2 separate regions of the Homo sapiens genome follow, and region 2 is linked to region 1. Evidence: promoter capture Hi-C in 16 types of primary human blood cells and fetal thymus (Javierre and others, 2016). All regions are on one chromosome and are shown on one strand. Each heading gives the region's core, a stretch centred on a gene start or on the middle of the fragment in contact. The rest is flanking DNA. Distances are from core to core; before and after follow the strand shown. Region 1 holds the start of IGSF11-AS1 (IGSF11 antisense RNA 1). Region 2 holds the start of TEX55 (testis expressed 55).

Evidence for each region. The method cuts DNA at HindIII sites, captures the fragments that hold promoters and counts their contacts. A CHiCAGO score of 5 or more calls a contact.
Region 2: the fragment with the promoter of TEX55 here is called in contact with the fragment with the promoter of IGSF11-AS1 in region 1 in 11 of 17 cell types (total CD4 T cells, activated CD4 T cells, M2 macrophages and 8 more); the score reaches 13.6 in total CD4 T cells.

The regions. Positions count from the first base shown.
Region 1 is chr3:118,940,718-118,945,017 of GRCh38, forward strand. It overlaps IGSF11-AS1 (IGSF11 antisense RNA 1), which reads left to right and starts at 2,359. Exons shown (of 4, transcript NR_046230.1): 1 at 2,359-2,469; 2 at 4,145-4,273. All of the region lies in intron 1 of IGSF11 (immunoglobulin superfamily member 11), which reads right to left. The HindIII fragment of the contact is 7,141 bases long and covers 1-4,089 here.
Region 2 is chr3:119,143,909-119,148,208 of GRCh38, forward strand. TEX55 (testis expressed 55) reads left to right here and starts at 2,257. Exons shown (of 3, transcript NM_152539.3): 1 at 2,257-3,679; 2 at 4,272-4,300. The coding sequence starts at 2,282. It also overlaps a transcript of IGSF11 not described here. RefSeq lists a silencer at 1,514-1,808. The HindIII fragment of the contact is 11,642 bases long and covers 1-4,300 here.

The DNA of each region.
Region 1 (4,300 bases), core at 1,109-3,608:
TCAAGAAAAAAAGTAAGTTATAAAGTAATATAGATAAAGTAGCATTGGAATAAGGACATATAGAGAGTCCAAAAATTGATTCATACATAAATGGGCAATTGATTTCCAACAAAGTTGTCAAAGCCATTCAGGGGGAAAAGTTTACTCTTTTTGAAAAACTGCACTGGGGGAAAAAATAATCTCCATATGCCAAAAAAAAAAAAAAAAACACCTCTACCCTTATTTAATACTTTATATAAAAATTAACTCAAAATAGATAAAAAATTTAAACATATCAATAAAACTATAAAACTTCTGGAAGAAAACACAGGAGAAATTCTCTATGACTCTGGGTTAGAAAAAGCCTTCTGGAATAGGATACAAAATGCATTAACCACTTAAAAATGGGTAAGACCTCATCAAAATTATTGTTTTGATAATAAAACAATAATAAAACAAGGTAAGTTTCTTGTCTTCAAAAGACACTATTAAGAAAATAAAAATACAAGCCATAGGTTGGGAAAAAATATTTTCAAAACACAAGTTCTTGTATTTATAATATCTAAAAACTCTTAAAATTCAACAAAACAAACAGTCCAATTTTTTAAATGCACAAAAGATTTGAACAGACACTTCACTATGCATAGAAAGTATACAAATGAGTAATAACATCCTGAAACGATGCTCCACTTCATTAGTCAACAGGGAACTTAAAACCACATTGAGATAATACAAAACATCAACTAGAATATATTATATTAACACGACAATGCTAAGTGTTGACGAGAATGTAGAACAACTAACTCTCATACATTTCTGAAGGAAATGAAATGTAGTACAGTCATTTGGAAACATTTTCATATTTTATTACAGAATTAAATGTACACTTAACTATACAATCTAGCAATTCCAATTCTAGATATTTATGCAAGACAAGTAAAGATACAGATCTACAGAAAAACCTATATGCAAATGTTCACTGCATCTTTATTTGTAATAGCCAAAATACCAGACACAACTCAAATGCCCATCAACTTGCAAATGGATAAAACAATTGTGACACAGCCATTTAATGAAATATTACTTATGAACAAAAAAAACCTCAAACTTCTGATATATGCAAAATGACTAAATGTTAAAGCTATTGTGCTAAGTGAAATAATCCAGAAACAAATGGCTATATACTGCATGTATCCATTAAAAAAAAATCTACGGAGAAAGCAAAACTATACAGGCAGAAAACAAAGCAGCAGTTGCCAGATGCTGGAGCTGGGACTGAGGGTTAAAGTTTGGCAGAGAATACTACATAGGGCATAAGGGAAGTCCTTGGAGTTACAGAAATAGTGTACATCACGGTTATGGTAGTGAACACAAGACGAGACATTTGTCAAAACATAGCAAACTATATACCTAGACAGAGGGATTTTATTGTATGTAAGTTATACTTTAAAAAAATGTTTTTTTAGAAAAAGGTATGTTGGGAAGCTCACAGAATCATGGAAATGGCTTGAAAAACAAATTAAGGGCTAATCTTCCAGGAAAACATCCATAACTATACTGTAAAACTGGCTTAAGAAAATTGCTGCAACTGTCCCTGTCACCAAACCCCAAATGCCAAAACTTTACTGCAACTACGAATGATGTCCCAGTGCTATATCAGGCACTTAACCCTACAACACTACCATCCTGCAAAGCCATACTCTTATGCTGCTATCTGTGCTAGCAATAGAAGCTCAACATAGAACTTGTTCTGTCACGTTTCTTCTTTCAAGTTTCTTCTTTCAAGTCAGGGCCAGAGACTCTCTATGTGAATCTGACTGAAGGGCCGAAGTCCAAGCTACACAAGAGGCCAGAAATTTAAGTTCTCATTTCTAACACTGGGGAGGTAGACTCATAATGTGGGAATTCCTCCAAATAGAAATACTATTCAAAATATGATTTGTCAGCCATGAATACGACTATGCTGACTACAGCAAGCAACAAATGAAAACAATAACAATTATGTCTTTCTCCTTCTTCTCTCCTACCTCTTCTAAGCCTATCTTTGTCAAGTTGTCTGTGTATTCCTTTATCTTGTCGGCTTTGCAGGGTGAAAAGATGAAACTACTGAAGACCAACAGGCTTCCTGTCTCTTGTGAAGCCTATGCTCACTGAGGAAGCTACAGTGGGGCAGAGGAGGTAGGAGGGGCTGCCTTTGAGCCTGATAAAGGAGAAAAAATACTACTGGGAGGGGAATGGAAGTTGGCCAAGTTCCTTGACAAGAGGAGATGCATGCTCTCCTTTGCTCAGAGGACAAAGGAAATAATGGTGCCTCAAAGAGTATGGCTGTCCTGGAGACTGGAGCTCTGGTCATCACAACATTCCATGTGTCCTACAAGGCACAGAAGCTGCAGAGCAACACAAAGGATCCTGCGGGCTTGAACAAGGGGCTCGAACAAAAAGCAGTTACTCCACAGAAGACCAGAGGGGTCCTCCCAGCATTGTGGCTCTGTAAGACAGACTGCAGCATATAGAGGGGAGCCTCAATAATTGATAATTATCACAATGATTTTTTTAAAAAGGGGTCTCAGATTTGAATTCAACTTGACATTTTAAAAAACAGATAGACATTTCTTACAAAACTTTGTGGAGCCTAGAAATGATGAGTAAAGTTTAAAAATAAATCTTAATGCCCTAAGCATTATATAAGGACTTTAAAAAAGATCTCTGTGCTTTCAAAAATTTCAGAAATCATAGTTTAAAGACAAGGCAGGGAATGGGCAGAGAAAACTGACAGAATCTAGGGGCTATTTTTTCGCTATTTCAGGATTGTCTTTTATTACAATGATAACCCTCTAGCCAAATCTGAACTTCCATGTGACTGGCCTTTTTCAGAGAAAATAAAATTTCTTGCTGCTTAGCTTTCTAAAGGACTTCTGAAAATCTAGGCTTTTAACTTGGATAATGAATAGGGTGAGAAGAATGTATTTTTCTTTCCTGTATACAGAACACTCTCTGACATTGTGATGCTATAGTTGCATGTCCTTATCAGTCTGGTTACTACATTGAGATTTATATTGGGAAATGCTATCTAGAGTTTCCAGATGGCAAGAGGCCAGATAAAGGGCCTTTGCTGTTAAATACAACCATGTACTCTCAACTTCACCACTTGGTTGAATATAGCTCTACTTGGCTATAATGAGCAAGCTCCATTTGTTTAATGAAGCATTCATATGACAAAAGTGGCTAAATCAACAAGTAGAGTTATTTATGAACAAATAAAGCCATCTGAAACCATCAGGAAGGATGTTACATTCTGAAACCAATTAAATTCTTTTTAAAAATGGCTCAACTGAAATATTTTATTCTTGTTCACCAGTAACACTGCTTCTTTCCAAATTAAACACTATTTTTAAAATTTTTCTTGATTTTTAGATATGTTTGTGTTAGTACTAATTTAACTTCTAACTAGTTTAAAGCATTCTTCAGTTTTTAACATACAAATATTTTAAATGTGGAAGTAAAGAGTTTGGTTATCCTTTTAGAAGTTCTCTTGAAGTCTAGGAATAGAGATAGAGGTAATATGGCATCATCATTAGGTTCTAATACAATGTATCTAGGTTTACTTTCTATGACCTTCAAGGCTCTGCTTAATCTGACCTTTGCCTGTTCTTCCAGCCAGTCTTACAGTACTTTCTTCCACAGTGGGCTTTTCTCAGGTTCAGCAACACACTGCACTCTCCCATCTAAGATTTATGTGGTCTATTGCCTTAGCTTGAAATACACACACACACACACACACACACACACACACACACACACACACACACACGATCCCTCTCATTTCTACCCATCCTTCAGATTTCAAAATTCTGCTGACCTCCAGAACAGACTACCCTTCCTTTTTAAATGCCCTCATGACACCCTGTACTTCCTTGATATAGTCACGACACTTTAAATTCTCTTAATAGAGGCCTTTCTCAATTTGATTCTAAGTAGAACCTATATGCTCGGGTCTCAGCACACAGAGACCATAATACAGTAAATGTTCAATATATTTGATGTTCAATGTACTTGATGCTATTCATCAAGAACTTATGTGCCAAGTATTGTTTTAGGCGGTTTATATAAAGCTTAGTAACAAACAAGACTTGGAGGTGATATGATTATTAATCGTATTTTACAGATGAGGAAACTGAGACCCAGAGATGGAACTGGGATTCAAAACAATGTCTAGTGTGACTCCAGAGCCTTTCCTAACTCCTACTTAAAGCCTCTGAGGAATGCTGAAAAGAGCACAGGACATAGAATCCAGGTACAGCTACTGACTAATTGTGTAGCC
Region 2 (4,300 bases), core at 1,007-3,506, 200 kb after region 1:
ACTTTATTTCTTCTTGTTTATAATATTTATTTATAGAAAATAATTATTTGTAGAAAACAACAAGCTCAAATTATATGAAGCAAACATTGACAGATTTGAAGGGAAAAAGAAACAGTTCTACAATAATAGTTGGAGATTTTAATACCCCACTTTTTTTGTGTGAAATAGGGTGTCACTCTGTGGCCCAGGCTGCAGTGCAGTGGCACAATCATGGCTCAGACAGCCTCAACCTCCTGGTCTCAAGCAATCCTCCCACCTCAGCCCACCAGTAGCTGGGACCACAGGTGCACACCACCACACCCGGCTGATTTTTTGTGTTTCTCACTTTGAATAATGAGTAGAACCCTAGACAGAAGGCCAGTAAGAAAATATAGGACTTGAACAACACTATTGACCAATTAGACCTAACGCATATGAAGAACATTCCACCCAACAAAAGCAAATACACATTCTTTCCATGGAATATTCTCCAGGATAAACCATATGGTAGGCCACAAAACAAGCCTTAATATATTTTAAAAGATTGAAACCATACAATGTATCTTCTCTGAACACAGCAGAATGAAGCTAGAAATCAATAAGAGAAGGAAAACTGGAAAATTCATACATATTTGGAAACTAGACAACATACTTTTAAACAACCAATGTGTCAAAGAAAAAAAAATCACAGAAAATGAGAAAATATCTTCAGATGAATGAAAACATAACACCAAACACTTGAGAGATGCAGCAAAAGCATCAGCTCAGAGGGAAATTTGTAACTATAAAACAGCTACATTTAAAAAAAAGATCTCAAATTGATAAATCATCATTTTGTAAAATATATACATACCTATAGATATAGACACATAGATTTGCATGGGGGTATTTCCAGAAGGATAAACATCAAAATGTCAATACAGGTTATCTCTTGAGTGTTTGGGAATTTTTTTCTTTACGCTTTCTTTTTTATATTTCTATGATTATTACATTTAAGTTATAAAATGGAAAAATAAATCTCCAAAACCAATAGCACTTTGAAGCTACAAGCCATAGCCCAAGACCTATTTTACTCTAAACACAGTATCCAATGGTGTCATGCATTTTTAAATAAATAAGGTAGATAATTCATAAAGTGACATTCAACAAGCACTTCTTGAGCACCTATTATGTTCTAGGCACTGTTACATAAATGACTTTACTTCAGTGTGCTTAGATTCCCCTTTCCATTCCTAAGTATGGTGTCAAGTGTATCCACTCTCCTTTGTCACAAGTATTTGAATTTGGATTTTAAGTCTCATTTCTAATTGTTTAATGCAGTTAAATCCCTACTAAAGGAATATCTGGCATCACACTACCAACCCTTGGCCTGCCTCAGTGATTTCAGGCTTTGCAAGGTCAAAGTAATTTGTCTCATCAATCACCACCTCTGTACTGGCCTACTCCTGAAAGTAGACAGCCTACTGACTCTGAGGTGCATTCTTAAGGTTGATTGCAAAGTGGGAGGACCAAATCTCAAAAACTGGGCCCCACTGGCCAACACTATCAAATACAAATTCTCCACTTGCTAAATATTCCTTCTGGTATCTTTCTCCCACTTTCCTTACTCCCTTCCTTTCTGGAACTCTGATTTGGCCTCCTTCTAACTCGCCTCTCTGCTGTAAGACCACTAGATGGTGCAGTTTTAGAACCCATTCTCACTGGATCTTCTCTCCTCTCTCTGGCTCTCCCGCCACAGATCACATGTCTAATCCAGCAAGAAAACACCTTGGGGCAGGAGTTTCCACTGCCAAGACAGCTATACCCAAAGGGGATGGCAATAGCAACAACCTCTGTTCAGTTTTGTGGTCCTCGTGCAGCTGGTTGTGTGTTCATCTGTTGACATTTGGAGGTGCGGTGGGGGATGTTAATCAGAGGAGCAGTACCTGAGAGAGGGCCTCTTTCTCACACACTGCGGAGAACCTCTGTGAACAAGGAAGAGGGTAACACTCTAGGTGGCGATGCACGGAGCCCCGTGGCCTGGTTGCTCGGCAGGGTGAGGAGAAGCTGTAACTGCCAGAGCCTGAGAATCGCCCCTTCTCAGGACATGGCGTACTCCCTGCGCTCGCCTGCACACTGCAGGGTCAGCTGACTGCCGTCCCTCCACTTACAACAGCGGGACGGCCACTCTCCCTGACGCACGCAGTGACCCGAACAAAGCCCGTGGGAATCATGGGGCGTTCCTGGAGGGTCGCCTAGACGACCCAGCCCAACCCCACCCACAGTGCCTGGCAACCTAGACCAGTCAGGGACGCGGCAGGAAATGGAAGAGCCTCCGCAAGAGGCTCTGGCTGAACCCTTGAAACATGAAAGCCCAGCCGCTCCCTCAAGTGCTGGCCACACTAAGGGCCAGGAAGAAGACGACCAGAAGAACCAGGCCGAAAGGAAGGCAGATAACCACACTGCTCACAGAATAGCTGACCAGACTGCCCTAAGAGTGCCTAGCCAGGCTGAATCCAGCATATTTAGCCAAGCTACCAACGGAGTAGCTGAACAAAATGGGCATAGTACACCTGGTCAGGCTGGCCGCAGAGCATCCAACCCTGCTGATGTTTCTGACCTTAGAGCAGATGATCAGGTTAATCAAACACCGTCTGAACAGACTAAAGGCAAGGCATCTAGCCAAGCTAATAATGTACAGCATGAACAGAGTGATGGTCAGGTGTCTGGCCTGACGGAGGAAAGAACTGCTGAACAGACTGAACGAAGATTACCTACCCAGGCTGAGAGAAGAACTTCTGGGCAGATTGATGGTAGACTGGCTATGCCATCTGACCAGAGAGGTTCCAGACAGACCGACCACAGAATGGCAGGCCAGTCTGAGAGAAGAGCTTCCGAGCAGATGGACCGCAGAATGTCTGGCGAGGCTGAGCGAAGAACTTCTGAGCAGATTACACACAGATTATCCAAACTATCTGAGAGAAGACCTTCTGTGCAGATTGACAGTGGGTCATCCGTCCCATCTGACCAAAGTCCTTCTGTACAGATTGACAGTGGATCGTCCGTACCATCTGACCAAAGACCTTCCGTACAGATTGACCGCAGAATGTCAGGGAAAGTTAGGAGAAGAAGTTCTGAGAAGACTGACTACAGATTGGCTGGCCTGGCTGACCCAGGAACTTCTGAGCAGACTGACCTCAGATTGTATGGCCTCGTTGACCACAAAACATCTGTAAAGACTCACCACCAAGTGTACGGCCAAGCCACTGAACTAGCTGAACACCAGGCTATTGACCAAGCTCATAGTAATGCTGATCAACCTCCAGTTGACAATGCTCACTACACTGAATCTGACCAGACTGACCACTTAGCAGACAGACAAGCTAATCATAAAGACCAGCTGTCTTACTATGAAACACGTGGCCAGTCTGAAGACAGAATATTTCCCCAGTTAGGCAACAGCAAAGAGGACAAAGAGGCTGACTACAGAGTACAACCCTGCAAATTTGAGGATAGCCAAGTAGACCTCAATTCCAAGCCTTCAGTTGAAATGGAAACTCAGAATGCAACCACTATCCCACCCTACAACCCAGTTGATGCCAGATTCACCAGTAACTTCCAAGCAAAAGACCAAGCTCTTTTCCCAAGACTCCCCTCCATCTCATCCAAATTGAACTATACCAGCAGTCAAGAAAAAACTCAAGCCATAGTAACCAAATCTGTAAGTTAAATGGGCATTTGATACCTACCTGGGAGATCAGAGATCTAGACGGGGCCTGGAGAGTAAAAATAGGGGTACAACGGAAGGGCACATGTTGCATCAAGGATAAAGAATAAACCCACATGTTGTGGTATGTGTGACCCATAATTTCAGGAAGGGCAAGAGAAGGATGGGAAATAAAAGAGAATTATTGCCTTCTCTACTACCCAAAGGCCATTCAGGAAGGATTAATAAACCAGGATTCAGGAAACCTGCATTTTAAGTCCTAGTTCTGCAACTAACTCTGTGATATTAAGTCATTTTCCCTCTCTGGGCTTCTACCAGGAGAAGGGAATTTGGAGTTGATTAGACATCCCTGTGAAGGAAAAAGTACTTGAAGTTGATTGGCAATGCCTAAGGTACCTCCCAGGACATGAGGTGCATTATATTGCACCTGGAGACCTGGAGGATTATCCAAGTCTCTCTTAAAAATGTGTATTTTCTCCAACTCCTTGTGTTAAGATCTCATCAACATCAGGTTTCACTGATAATGACAATTCCTAGGCCCTTCAGGTTTACTAAGGACTTTTTGGTGGGGGGATTTAAATTTCAGGATGAATTTTCAGAAATTGACCAAGGAAA